Regions from separate parts of the Homo sapiens genome. Here regions 1 and 3 are each linked to region 2. Evidence: promoter capture Hi-C in human tissues and cell types (Jung and others, 2019). All regions are on one chromosome and are shown on one strand. Each heading gives the region's core, a stretch centred on a gene start or on the middle of the fragment in contact. The rest is flanking DNA. Distances are from core to core; before and after follow the strand shown. Region 1 holds the start of CARM1 (coactivator associated arginine methyltransferase 1). Region 2 holds the start of CDC37 (cell division cycle 37, HSP90 cochaperone). Region 3 has its middle 6.9 kb from the start of QTRT1.

The links. The method cuts DNA at HindIII sites, captures the fragments that hold promoters and counts their contacts. A contact is called where the count stands out against the background at its distance.
Region 1: a contact is called between the fragment with the promoter of CARM1 here and the fragment with the promoter of CDC37 in region 2, in 2 of the 25 tissues and cell types used here (adrenal gland and spleen).
Region 3: a contact is called between a fragment that was not itself captured here and the fragment with the promoter of CDC37 in region 2, in 1 of the 25 tissues and cell types used here (spleen).

Annotation. Positions count from the first base shown.
Region 1 is chr19:10,868,842-10,873,069 of GRCh38, reverse strand. CARM1 (coactivator associated arginine methyltransferase 1) reads right to left here and starts at 1,517. Exons shown (of 16, transcript NM_199141.2): 1 at 1,148-1,517. The coding sequence starts at 1,367. It overlaps C19orf38 (chromosome 19 open reading frame 38), which reads right to left. Exons shown (of 7, transcript NM_001136482.3): 7 at 3,280-3,852. The coding sequence ends at 3,703. RefSeq lists an enhancer at 68-247 and silencers at 988-1,197, 1,288-1,337, 1,468-2,257. The HindIII fragment of the contact is 23,799 bases long and covers 1-4,228 here.
Region 2 is chr19:10,401,763-10,405,572 of GRCh38, reverse strand. It overlaps CDC37 (cell division cycle 37, HSP90 cochaperone), which reads left to right and starts at 2,031. Exons shown (of 8, transcript NM_007065.4): 1 at 2,031-2,195. The coding sequence starts at 2,094. It overlaps MIR1181 (microRNA 1181), which reads left to right and starts at 2,035; the gene lies at 2,035-2,115. RefSeq lists silencers at 496-545, 2,256-2,315 and an enhancer at 1,506-1,855. The HindIII fragment of the contact is 39,094 bases long and covers 1-2,396 here.
Region 3 is chr19:10,692,618-10,696,486 of GRCh38, reverse strand. No RefSeq gene overlaps it. Among named protein-coding and RNA genes, the nearest start is that of QTRT1, 6.9 kb to the left of the region's middle. RefSeq lists a silencer at 425-684 and enhancers at 641-1,140, 3,837-3,869. The HindIII fragment of the contact is 7,533 bases long and covers 1-3,869 here.

The sequences.
Region 1 (4,228 bases), core at 268-2,767, 470 kb before region 2:
AGACCCAGGCTCTGCACCAGCAAAAAGAGACGGCACCCTCGGACAGCAGACACAACTCCTTTAGTCCACGTTTTCAAAGTCGAGGTGCAGGGAAAACCCAGTGTGAACGGACTGCTCCTCGGGCTTTCCTTTAATCGGGCCGTTTCCAAAGTGGCAAAAAATTCACACAGGACCCAAGCTAGCTAGAGGCCTCCTGAGGGGTTCCCCAGGGCATCAGTGCAAGAAGCCCTGAAAGACAAAGCCAAATGACACAGAGTAGCAAAATGTGAACAAGGAATCAAAGAGAAGAGATAAGAAGGAGTAACAAGAAGAAGAATGAACTACAAAGACTGGGAGCGGGGGTGGGGGGTGCTGGCAAACGCATTTGTGATTTTCTTTTCCCCCCAGTGAAATGTCAGTTTTGAAAGCAGCTTCGGAAAATGTAACCAGCTTCTCACATCCCCCAAAAGAAGATGGGAGGAGGCTGTTAGCTCTTACTTCGAAGCCCGGCATCAGGAAGGGGCCCGTCCCGTCCACGTTTCCACGAGGAGCTCACCCTGCGGCTCCCACCGTCCCCGCATGGGCCCTCTCCCCAGATCCTGAAGTTTCCCATTCGGGGGTCCTGAACGCCACACCTCGCACAGCGGTGGAACTCGGTACTCGCGGGCGCCCCAGACCAGCAAACACTTTCCAACCGTCCTGAGCTATCCAGGGGGTCCCCAGAGGGATCCCGGGCCGCCCACGCCCCACCCTCCTCCCTGCAGAGGCGGCCACGCCCGCCCCCGAGACGCCCACCTCTCCCGCACCCCGGACCTCCCTCCCCCACGCTTAAGCCCACCACGCCTGGCGTCCTCCAAATTCCCCTTCCACTCAGAGCCCCCCACTTCCTGCTCACCCACCCCTCCCAAATCTCAGGCCCTTCACTCCCCATTTCGCGCTCCCTTGCTCACTCTGGGCACCTTGCCCCTCCGGCCACCACGCACGCCCTCTTTTCTCTGTCTGTCCCCTGGCACCGGCCCTCCACGGTCGCTCCCTGCAGGCCACCGGCTCAGTCCCGGGGACCCCACGCCAGGCCCCCGCGCTCAGGGCCCCTCCCCGCCGGCCCCCGCCCCGGGCCGGCCTCGTGAGCAGCCCCGGCCCTGCGCCTGCCCCGGGGCCCCGTACTCACGGCTGTAGAGGGCGATGCCCGCCGAGTCCGGGCCGGCGCGCACCTCGAGGCGCAGCGCCTGCTGCTCCGCGTGCCGCTGGATCTCGCCGTTCGCGTCGCCGATGGTGAGGAGGCGGGCGCCGGGGAACACCGACACGGTAGCGCAGGGCCCCGCGCCGCCCGGGACCGCCGACCCCGCGCCGCCCGCGCCCGGCCCCACCGCCGCCGCCGCCGCTGCCATCTTAGATCCGGCTCCAGGCCCCGCCGCCGCCGCCGCTGCGCCCGGGCCCAGGCCGCCGCCGCTGCCGCCGCCGCCGCCGCCGCCGCCGCCGCCGCCGCCGCCGCCGCCGCCGCTGCCGCTACCGCCGCCGCAGCCGCCGTGCAGGCCGAGGCCGAGCCGGGCAGCGCCGCCTGCCGGCCACGCGCCGCCTCGCCGCCGCCGCCGCCACCGTCGCCGCGGCCCGGCCCCGTGGCGCAGCGCCCTCTGCCGGCCGTCCTGGGCGCGGGGAGCTAGCGAGCGAACGAGAGGGCACCCCGTGGGGCGGGACCGGCTACGCCCCGCCCCGCGAGAACGGTCGCCGCTTTGTGAGGTGGCTCCACCGCCCGGGAACTGCGGGGCGGGAGGGTACGTCGGGGGCGGTGCTCGGGCGCGCGGGCACGCCCCTCGGAGGCCTGGGCCCCGCCCCCAGGCCGGCGCCTCATTAACGGCTGCTTTCGAGTGAGGCGGTGCGGGGACGGCGGGGGCGGTGCTCGGCCGCGTGGACACGCCCTGTACCCCGCCCCACACAAGCAGCCGCGCGTCGTGATGCGGCTTCCCTGCCCCGACCTGGACACGCCCCTGAGACTGGGCCCCACCCCCCCGGGCCCGCCCGGCTTTGTGAGGCAGCCCTCAGGGAGGCGTGGCCCAGCCGCGACGAGGCCCCGCCCCCGTGCCTGCCCGCGCCCTCCCACCCGGACTCGCTTTGTCAGCCGCCCCGCTCTGGGGAATGGGCGGGGGAAAGGGCGTGGCCAGCGCCCGGGCCTCGCCCCCAACCCTTCCCCCCACCGCCCCCGCACCGACGATTTCCGATGAGCCCTGGCCTCCAGGAGCAACCTGAGCCCGGTTGAAAGGACCCCTCCCCGACATTCGACCGCTCCTCCTCCCTTCCCCATCATCTCTGCCCACATTGCCTTCTTAATCCTTAATGTTTGACTGTCTCCTTTCGCACAAGATATCCTTTGACCCCCTCCTCTCTCAGCCCCTCCTCCAACGATGCTGAGTCCAGCCTGGCCCGGCGCAGGGCCCCTCTCCCGCCACACAAACCCGTCTTCTCTCTGCATCCCCCTTCATTTTGGGTGGCCCCATCTCTTTTGGGCGACCCAGTGAGCTTGGGCCACTTCCTAGCACTCCAGCTTTAACTCTTCCCTAGACCTCATTTACGCCTCATTCCTTTTTTTTTTTTTTTTTTTTCTTTGAGACGGAGTCTCGCTCTGTCTCCCAGGCTGGAGTGCAATGGCTCGATCTCAGCTCACCGCAACCTCCGCCTCCCGGGTTCAAGTGATTCTCCTGCCTCAGCCTCCCGAGTAGCTGGGACTACAGGCATGCTCTACCACGCCCAGCTAATTTTTTATTTTTAGTAGAGACGAGGTTTCACCATGTTGGTCAGGCTGGTCTTGAACTCCTGACTTCAGGTGATCCGCCCGCCTCGGCATCCCAAAGTGCTGGGCCTACAGGCATGAGCCACCGCGCCCGGCCCCTTTTGTTTTTTGAGACAGGGTCTCACTGTGTTGCCCAGGCTAGAGTGCAGTGGTGCCATCATAGCTTACTGCAGCCTCAACCTCCTGGGCTCAAGCAACCCCCTGCCTCGGCCTCCCAAAGTGCTGGGATTATAGGTGTGAGCCACTGCGAGGGGCCCTCATTCTCCTTCATGTCCCTCACCCGTAGCCCCTGTCATTCCACCTCCTAAACCCTCTAATGCAAGTACCGTTGCAGAGACCCTGGCATGGCACTGCTGCACTCCCCACACCCCCAGGAGGCTCCGCATACACCACCCTGACTGCCCTTGAGAGATGCTTCAAATTTGGTGAATTCAGACACGCTCCACCCCCCAGCCATCCAACCATGGGATCCAGAGGTCCCCAGCTTGAAGGATTCCACTCCATAGAGGCCTGGGAACACCTTGACCCGTGTTATAATTAATAACTTAAGCAAGCCAGCAGGCAGACACACAACACACCCAAGGGCACCCTATGCTCAAAAACCCACTGGGGAAGGGAGGAATTCCACGGGTGTGCAGAGACCTGGGACGTCTTATGGCCCAGCTGGGGGACAAGAAGGGGTCCTGACATCTCCTTCTCTGGTGGTCCTGAGGAGCCGAAGGTCGAGAGGGGAACTTCCTGTTGTCTGTATAGTGCCAGGCCCATGCCTGTGTCCCCTCTCCCACTCCTCTGTGATGAAAATCCCAAGGCCAGGGTTCCCCTTCCTTTCCTCTGTCCAATTCCCTGAGAAAGTGGCTGACAGAGCCCCCCCAGAAGTAGCTGGAGGGACCTCAGGCCCCCGAATGCCTGGAGACAGAGGGGTCCCCCAGTCCTCAGCCTCACTGGCAGGCCCGGAAAGTGCTGAATTCGGGGGTCTCAGGCGAGGAGGACGTGGAAGTGGGCCTCTTCCGGGTCCTGGAGTTGCTGGGGGTGGCAGTGGTGCCTGAGTGATCATCCAAGGTGGCCGGGTCTTCTTCTGGCATCGTTTTCTTTGTCCATGTAAGAAGAAACACAGAAGTGGGTGATTTGGGGTTTCAGGATCTAGGGTTTCTCCATGTTCTGAGCCTGAGACTCTGCCAGCCCAGCAGGTCTCCTCTCATCCCGCCCCCACCCACACCCACCTGTCCTGGTCTTCCCTTCTCCTGCCTTCCTCTCTGCTAAACTGGGGACCAGAGAGCATGGATTCAAACACCAGTTCCTTCACTTTATAGCAGTGTAACCTCAGTTGTGTGGCTTCACCCCTCTATACCTCAGTTTCCCCTTCTGCAAAACGGGCAGAATGCTAGTACCCACCACTTCCTAGGGCTGCTATGAGGCTTAAAAGAGTAAAACTGATAAAGCAAATGGCACATCGTAAGCTCTTCT
Region 2 (3,810 bases), core at 782-3,281:
AGCAAAGGTAGCCCCAAAAAGCGTTCCCAATTCCCGCAAACCTCCCCCCCACACACACACACAGGCAGGAGAGACATAGCAGGGTTTGCACCGATGGGGGTGGGATGGGGACCGGGGACAGAGGGACAGTGCAAAGCAACTTAGGGGTCTCTCTCCTCAGTCCCCAGGGCTGGAGGTGCTGTGCTGGCAGATTAGGAAATGCTTGGGGTTGATGGGGAAGCTTCCGGCGCTCTATCCCCAGTTCTGGAAGCTGAGGCTCCGGGAACCCTGTTTTGCTGAAGCTGGGCAGCTCCAGTCTCCAGAGCCAGGAAGAGACCCCCGCGCCTATCCGGGAATCCCCGACATCTGGGATTCTCTCCAAACACCCCCAGGCTGATGACGGGGCCGAATCCCTAAAGGGCATACGGTGGGGGTGGGGGTACGACTTTCCTGGGGAGCCGGGGAACCCCCTACCTTCCTGGCCCCCTCCCACTGTGGCACCGTGTCCCCCTCCCCACCGCAGCTCGCAGCCCCAAGCTTACCTTGCGGGGGGCCTGGGGAGGGGATGCCCCGCCCTCCCTGGCCTGGGGGGCGGGAGGGGACGGGGGTGTCCAGACCCTTTGTTTGCTGGTGTGTGTGTGTATGTGTGTGTGCGATTGTGAGAGCCGCCGGGGTGTGGGTCCGTGCGCGCGCGTGCCCGGGCCGTGACGGCCACTGATGTGCTGGACTGCCAGGGTGGAGGGGAAGAGGGAGGGGTAGGAGATGGGGACTCCCCCGCCCCTGCCCGCCCACTCGCGGGTTTGAATGAAGCGCGAGGGGGAAGGGCGGCAGCGGGAGGACGTTTTTGTCCGATGGCCCTTCCCGCTCCATGCACCGGGGAATCCTCCCCCTTCTGGAGAACTTCGCTCGCTCTCTCCAGGCACTGCCTCCAACGTCGGCTCCAGGGGAGACTAGGAAGAGGCGCCCCTCACCGGAGTGGCTGGAGCTCCTCCTATCCAGCCTGACCCCCGAGGGAGCACCCTTTAATCTGAGATAATCCTGGCCCAAGGCTGCAACACGGCCTATTATCCTGGTATCAAAGCGTGGATTGGGATGCATGGAAGTGTGAGGTGGTCGAGGCCCTGCATGCTTAGAGTAATGGAGTCCTTAGAGCCCCGGCGGAGGAAGCGTACCCCAAGACGAACGGGGAGGGGCTATGCGTGGCCCCAGACTGTGACGACAAGGAAAGCCCCCTTCCACCCCTCCACGATTCCCCCCACCAAGCGCGGGGCCAGGAATACGCGCCGTGGGCTAGACTCTAGCGACACCCAGCGGCCAGCGGGGTGGGGAGCCGAGACCCGTTTTGAGGGGGTCCGGGTGATTCCAAAGTGTGTGTGTGTGTGTGTGTGCGTGTGTGTGTGTGTGTGTGTGTGTGTGCGCGCGCGCGCTCGCGCGAGTCCTCGCTGCGAATGGCAGGAGGTGGAAGACAAGGAGAAGGCTGTTGCCGAGGCGGGGAAACCCCAGCTCCCAAGGCAGGGCCACAGTCTCCCCTCCACGTTTAACCCTGCAAGGGGAGGGCCATACCACCCCCGATTTAGACACCCCCAGGGCAGGTCCAGTCCTCCTCGGGCTGAGAAAGTCCGAGGAGTCATCAGGCGCCCCTCTCCAGCGCAGGCTTAGGTCCCCGTTTACGAAGGGCAGGGGGAGGGCCTTCCCGCCGTGTCCCTACCCCTTGCAGACGTCACTGCGGCGTGGCTGAGGGGACAGTCCTCTCAGTCTCATCAACCGTCCCCTCCCTGCCACCCCAAACGCCCACCGTGGAGCGGCGGGAGATGAGGGGGGCTCGGAGTTGAAGCGCGCACTCATATGCCCCCAGGAGACCTAGCGGAGCCCCAGCGCCCGATGACGCGGAGTCTCTGCGGGAACTCCAGGGGGCCGGAACACTTACGCAGGGCCCTTTAAGGCTGGCTGGGTAGCTAGTGCCGCTGCCGCGGTTACTAGGGATGTGACGTCACACAGGGCGGGGTTTCCCGCGCTCGGCGGAAGCGGAAGGGGCGGGGCTCCGCGCTCCTAGTCTCCACTGCTGCCGCCGTCGCCGCCACCCGAGCCGGAGCGGGCTGGGCCGCCAAGGCAAGATGGTGGACTACAGCGTGTGGGACCACATTGAGGTGTCTGATGATGAAGACGAGACGCACCCCAACATCGACACGGCCAGTCTCTTCCGCTGGCGGCATCAGGTAAGGCGCGCGCGCCCATCCCTTTCCCCACTCCCGGACCCCGCTTCGGAGTTGTGATCCCCGATACTGCCCAGGGACCCCGCTGTTCACACCTAGGATTCTCACCCCCCCAGTCTGGATTTTCAGGAGCTTCGATTCAACTCCGGGACCCCAGTACCATTGGGACCCTGAGTCCCTGCCCTGGATCTCCGCTCCCCCACTCCCTGCTCCGATTTTTGCGTGGGATTCCCTATTCACCCCCTAGAACTTCTTCATAGTCTGGAGTCCCCTAGACGAGTCTTGGGGGTTCTCCCTAATTCTGTTCGGCAGTTAACATTTATACCCAGAACTCTGCCTCAAAGTTTGGACCCCAAATTCTTCTAGATGATCCCTCATCCTATTCGGGTATTCACTTCCTATCTGGGATCTCCCATCGCCCCCCCACCTCCGTAGTCTGGACCCCCAATACTTTGGTCTGTCCCGGGATCTACTTTCCGGGATCTTGATCCGGGGTTCCCATTCAGATCCGGAGTCGCCACTCCTTTTCTAAACGGAACAAGGAACTCTGTGCTACTCTGATATTCCTGTCCCTGCCCACACCCAGGACCCCCTTCCTAGAGTGTAGAACCGTCCCCCTTCAGGATCCTTAGTCTCACCGAGTACTTGGGTTTTGGAATCTGGTTCCCCTCTGGATCTAACTACCAGCTCCAACCCGATAGAGCCTCACATTCCAGCCTCTCCTTTGGCCTCCGGTAGACCCATTTCCCATTATACCAGGAAATCCTGCCCACGTGGCTTCCGGCCTAGCCAGAGCCCCTGCTCCTACTTGGTATTGCAGACCCTGTCACCACCCACTTCCCAGACTGGCTTCCTGTATGAGCCTCAGCCAGCATTGGAAACTCTCCCCTAACTCAAGCCCAGAACCCCAAACCCACCCCACCTTTTGTCCCCAGCCTGTTAGCTACTCTGTGACCCAAATTGTCCCTGCTCTTATCCAGGGACTCTCCTGGTCTGATTCTAAATTCACCACCCCTTCTTCTATCTGACCACAACAGAGGTCCCGAATCCAGACCCCAGAATCCCAAGCCTGGGTGATCCATGTCCCACCACCCTCTCAGTGCTCACGAGCCAATGGGATGACTAAGACTTAAAGGTTTAACCTCCTGCTACCCCAAATGAGTGTGCCTGCATTACATACCAGTGTCTGTTGTATTCCTTTTTTTTTTTTTTTTTTTTTTTTTGAGACGAAGTTTCCTTCTTGTCGCCCAGGCTGGAGTGCAGTGGCACAATCTTGGCTCACTGCAACCTCTGCCTCCCGGGTTCAAGTGATTCTCCTGCCTCAGCCTCCTGAGTAGCTGGGATTACAGGCATGATGCACCACCATGCCTGGCTAATTTTGTATTTTTGGTAGAGACAGGGTTTCTCCATGTTGGTCAGGCTGGTCTTGAACTTCCGACCTCAGTTGATCCACCCACCTCGGCCTCCCAAAGTGCTGGGATTACAGGCGTGAGCCACCGCACCCAGCCATGTTGTGCTCTTAAACGAAGGGCATATACCTCTCAGAACCTTCTAGTGAGGATCTCTTACCCCACCCTCCCATAGGGCAATTCCCCATCATTTATCCAGAAACAACTAG
Region 3 (3,869 bases), core at 826-3,325, 290 kb before region 2:
ATCCTGTCTCGAAAAAACTAAAAATAAAATTATATACATACATACATATAGAGAGAGGTCAATGTGTTCAGTAGGACAGGATAGTCAGGGCTGGGCTCACTGAGACGGTGGGATTTGAGCCTGAAAGGAGGATGGAGGAGTCATGCGGAATCGGAGAGAGCACTCCAGGCCTCGTGAACAGTTAAGAGCAAAGGCCTGGAGGTGGGAATGTGTCTGGATTGTCTGTTGTGAGCGCGGAGGTCAGTGTGGCTGGAGGTGAGCGGATGAGGGTGTGGAGGTGACGGCATGAAATCGCGGGAAGCCTTGGGCTTTCCTCTGAGCTGGATGGGACGGTAGGGCTTTCTCAGCCAACGTGGAGGGAAGTGGGCTCTACCTATTACCAAGAGATAAACTGGGGATAGGGCGCAAAGGAGGCTTAGTGGTCCCTGCTTTAGGGTGTTGGCACCGCCCACTTAGGAGAGCTGGGGGCGCCGTGAGCCTGCAGCTAGAGGCGGCGCTTGGTGTGCGGCTTCAGCACAGTGGACAGCGCCGTACGCGTTGCCTGGAGACCAGGAAAGCGGCCGCTCAGGGAGCGGAGCCTGCGCAAGCGCCCTATGAGGAGCGGCGCGCTCCACGCAGTGGCACACTCTGTGGGGGCGGGGCCTGCGAGTCCGGCCAATTAGAAGAGTTTGTTGCCGGGCGTGGTGGCGCTTGCCTGTAATCCCAGCTACTCAGGAGGCTAAGGCGGGAGAATTGTTTGAACCAGGGAATCAGAGGTTGCAGTGAGTGAGCGGAGATCGCGCCACTGCACTCCAGCCTGGGCGACAGCGAGACTCCGTCTCCAAAAAAAAATTTTGTTGACAACCCCAGGACGAAGAGAGTTTATACACAGGGCAGGGCCTGCGAAATCCCATCTGGAGTTGGAGCTTGTTGATTGCGCAAAGGAAGGAAGGAAGGGGCGGTGGGCACCCGGAGCCTAGAGACCGGCGGGAAGTTTGGAAGCGGTGGTTTGCAGCAGCTAGGCCTGGGGCGGTTTCCGCGCTCTTCACATGGAGGCTTGCGCAGCACCCAGGGTCGTGACTGGGGCTGTCAGATCCCGAAACTTGCCTTCTCTGGGATCGCCCGCGACTGCTCAGGGGAGCCCCCAAACAGGGGACTATATGGTTGGCCTTAGGGAGCGGGTGCTGAGGTCCTGGGTCCAGGATACGGACTTCTGAGCACTGACTGAGGAATACAGAACATTCAGGAGAGGAGAGTTAGGGGTTTTGCTGAAATAATGGTCCTTGGAGCCCTGAGTTCGGGTGGTCGTCTCGATAGCCTGGAGGATTTCTCCAGTTTATTCATCGGACGTGTGGGGACCGTCCCTCTGTGACATTGCCACCCACCTACTGCCCTGTTGCCAAGCAAGAAGACCTTAGGCGCCAGATCTTTTGAGAAGACAAAAGCACTGGCCCAAGACCTGGGAGTTCATGGACTTCTTGGCTACTCCGTGGAGAGAATGCTGGTCTCCCTGAGAATGAGAAGGACGGGCCCCTTTTCTTTGACATACCGTTTTTAACCCTCTTGAGTCTAGAAACTCTTCCCTTATCAAGACCAGTGGACTCAGCTGCAAAAATCACTGTAAACCTCAGCTCCGATGTTCCAAAAGTCAAGCCTCTTGTCGTCTCCAGGGCCCCCATTCTCACCTCTCCCATACACCTACTCAGCTCAGCAACCAAAAGAACTGTACTGAGGCGCGGTGGCTCACAATGGTTAATTCCAACAGTTCGTGAGGCTGAAGAGGGGATGGCTTGAGGCCAAGAATTGGACATCAACCTGAGACCCTGCCCCTATGAAGAAAAACAAACATTAGCCAGGCAGTGAGGCCTGTAGTCCTAGATACTCAGGAGGATGAGTGAGCCATGATGGCACCACTGCATACCAGACCGAGACCCTGTCTAAAAAATAGTTTCAGCTGGGAGCGGTGGCTCACGCCTGCAATCCCAACAATTTGGGAGGCTGAGGCAGGCGAATCACAAGGTCAAGAGTTCAAGACCAGCCTGGCCAACATGGTGAAACCCCATCTCTACTAAAAATCCAAAAATTAGCCAGGCATAATGCTGGGCACCTGTAATCTCAGCTACTCGGGAGGATGAGGCAGGAGAGTAACTTGAACCCGGGATGCGGAGGTTGCAGTGGGCCGAGATCACTCCAGTGCACTCCAGCCTGGGCAACAGAGCGAGAGACTATCTCAAAAACAAAACAAAACAAACAAAAAAACTGTAGGCCAGGCGCCGTGTGGCTCACGCCTGTAATACCAGCACTTTGGGAGGCCAAGACGAGTGGATCACGAGGTCAAGAGTTTGAGACCAGCCTGGCCAGCAAGGTGGAACTAAAATACAAAAATACTAAATACTAAATACTAAAAATACTAAATACTAAAAATACAAAAAATTGGCTGGGCGCGGTGGCTCACTCCTGCAATCCCAGCACTTTGGGAGGCCGAGGCAGGCGGATCATGAGGTCAGGAGATCGAGACCATCCTGGCTAACACGTGAAACCCCGTCTCTACTAAAAATACAATTAGCCGGACGTGGTGACAGGCACCTGTAGTCCCAGCTAATCGGAAGGCTGAGGCAGGAGAATGGCGTGAACCCGGGAGACGGAGCTTGCAGTGAGCGGTATCATGCCACTGCACTCCAGTCTGGGCGACAGTGAGACTCCGTCTCAAAAAAAAAAAAAGCCGGACATGGTGGTGCATACCTGTAATCCCAGCTACTAGGGAGGTTGAGTCAGGACAATCACTTGAACCCAGAAAGCGGAGGTTGCAGTAAGCGGAGATCATGCCACTGCACTCTAGCCTGGGTGATAGGGCAAGACTCTGTCTCAAACAAAAGTTAGCTGGGCATGGTGTCACACACCTGTAGTTACCGCTTCTCGGGAGGCTGAGGCAGGAGAATTGCTTGAACCTGGGAAGCGGAGGTTGCAGTGCGCCGAGATTGCTCCACTGCACTCCAGCCTGGCGACAGAGCAAGACTCCATCTTAAAAAATAAACAGCCAGGTGCGGTGGCTCACACCTGTCATCCCAGCACTGGGAGGCCGAGGCAGATGGATCACCTGAGGCCGGGAGTTCGAGACCAGCCTAACATGGAGAAAACTTGTCTCTACCAAAAATACAAAATTAGCCAGGCTTGGTGGCACATGCCTGTAATTCCAGCTACTGAGGAGGCTGAGGCAGGAGACTCGCTTGAACCCGGGAGACGGAGGTTGTGGTTAGCAGAGATCGTGCCATTGCACTCCAGCCTAGGCAACAGGAGCGAAACTCCATCTCTAAATAAGTAAAATAAATAAACAAATATATACTCTTGGGAGCCTGAATGGGCCTGAAGTCTTCCCAGGTCAGAATCCATCCATGGCTCCCCACTGTCCTTAGAAAGAAGGCAAGAACTCCTGTGCCTGGCACTCCACTTGGGGGCCCTCAAGATCCCACTGACCTCCAGCCTCATTTCCCAGCATTCCTTTGTTTTGCATCAAAATGCTCTACCCACCTGACTTCAGCTTCTTGAAGCCCATCCTCATCCCCCAGCTGAATTTTTGCTCAAGCTATTCCCTCTGCCTGGCCTCCCCTTCCCTTCCTAACACTCTTGGGTCCAACTCACCCATCCTCTCACCTGAGGGGAAAGCCTTGACAGGCACTTCCTGTCCCACTGTGACACAGCCCTCTTTGTGCCTGGAAGCTACATGTGGGTTGGGAGCAGGTTCACCATTTCGTTCCCAGCAACCAGCACCAGACTTGACATGTAATCACTGTGCAATAATAAACACGACAGCAGGGCACAGTGGCGCTGCCTGTCATCCCAGCTACTATAGGGAAGCTGAGTTGCTTAAGGCCAGGAGTTCAAGACTAGGC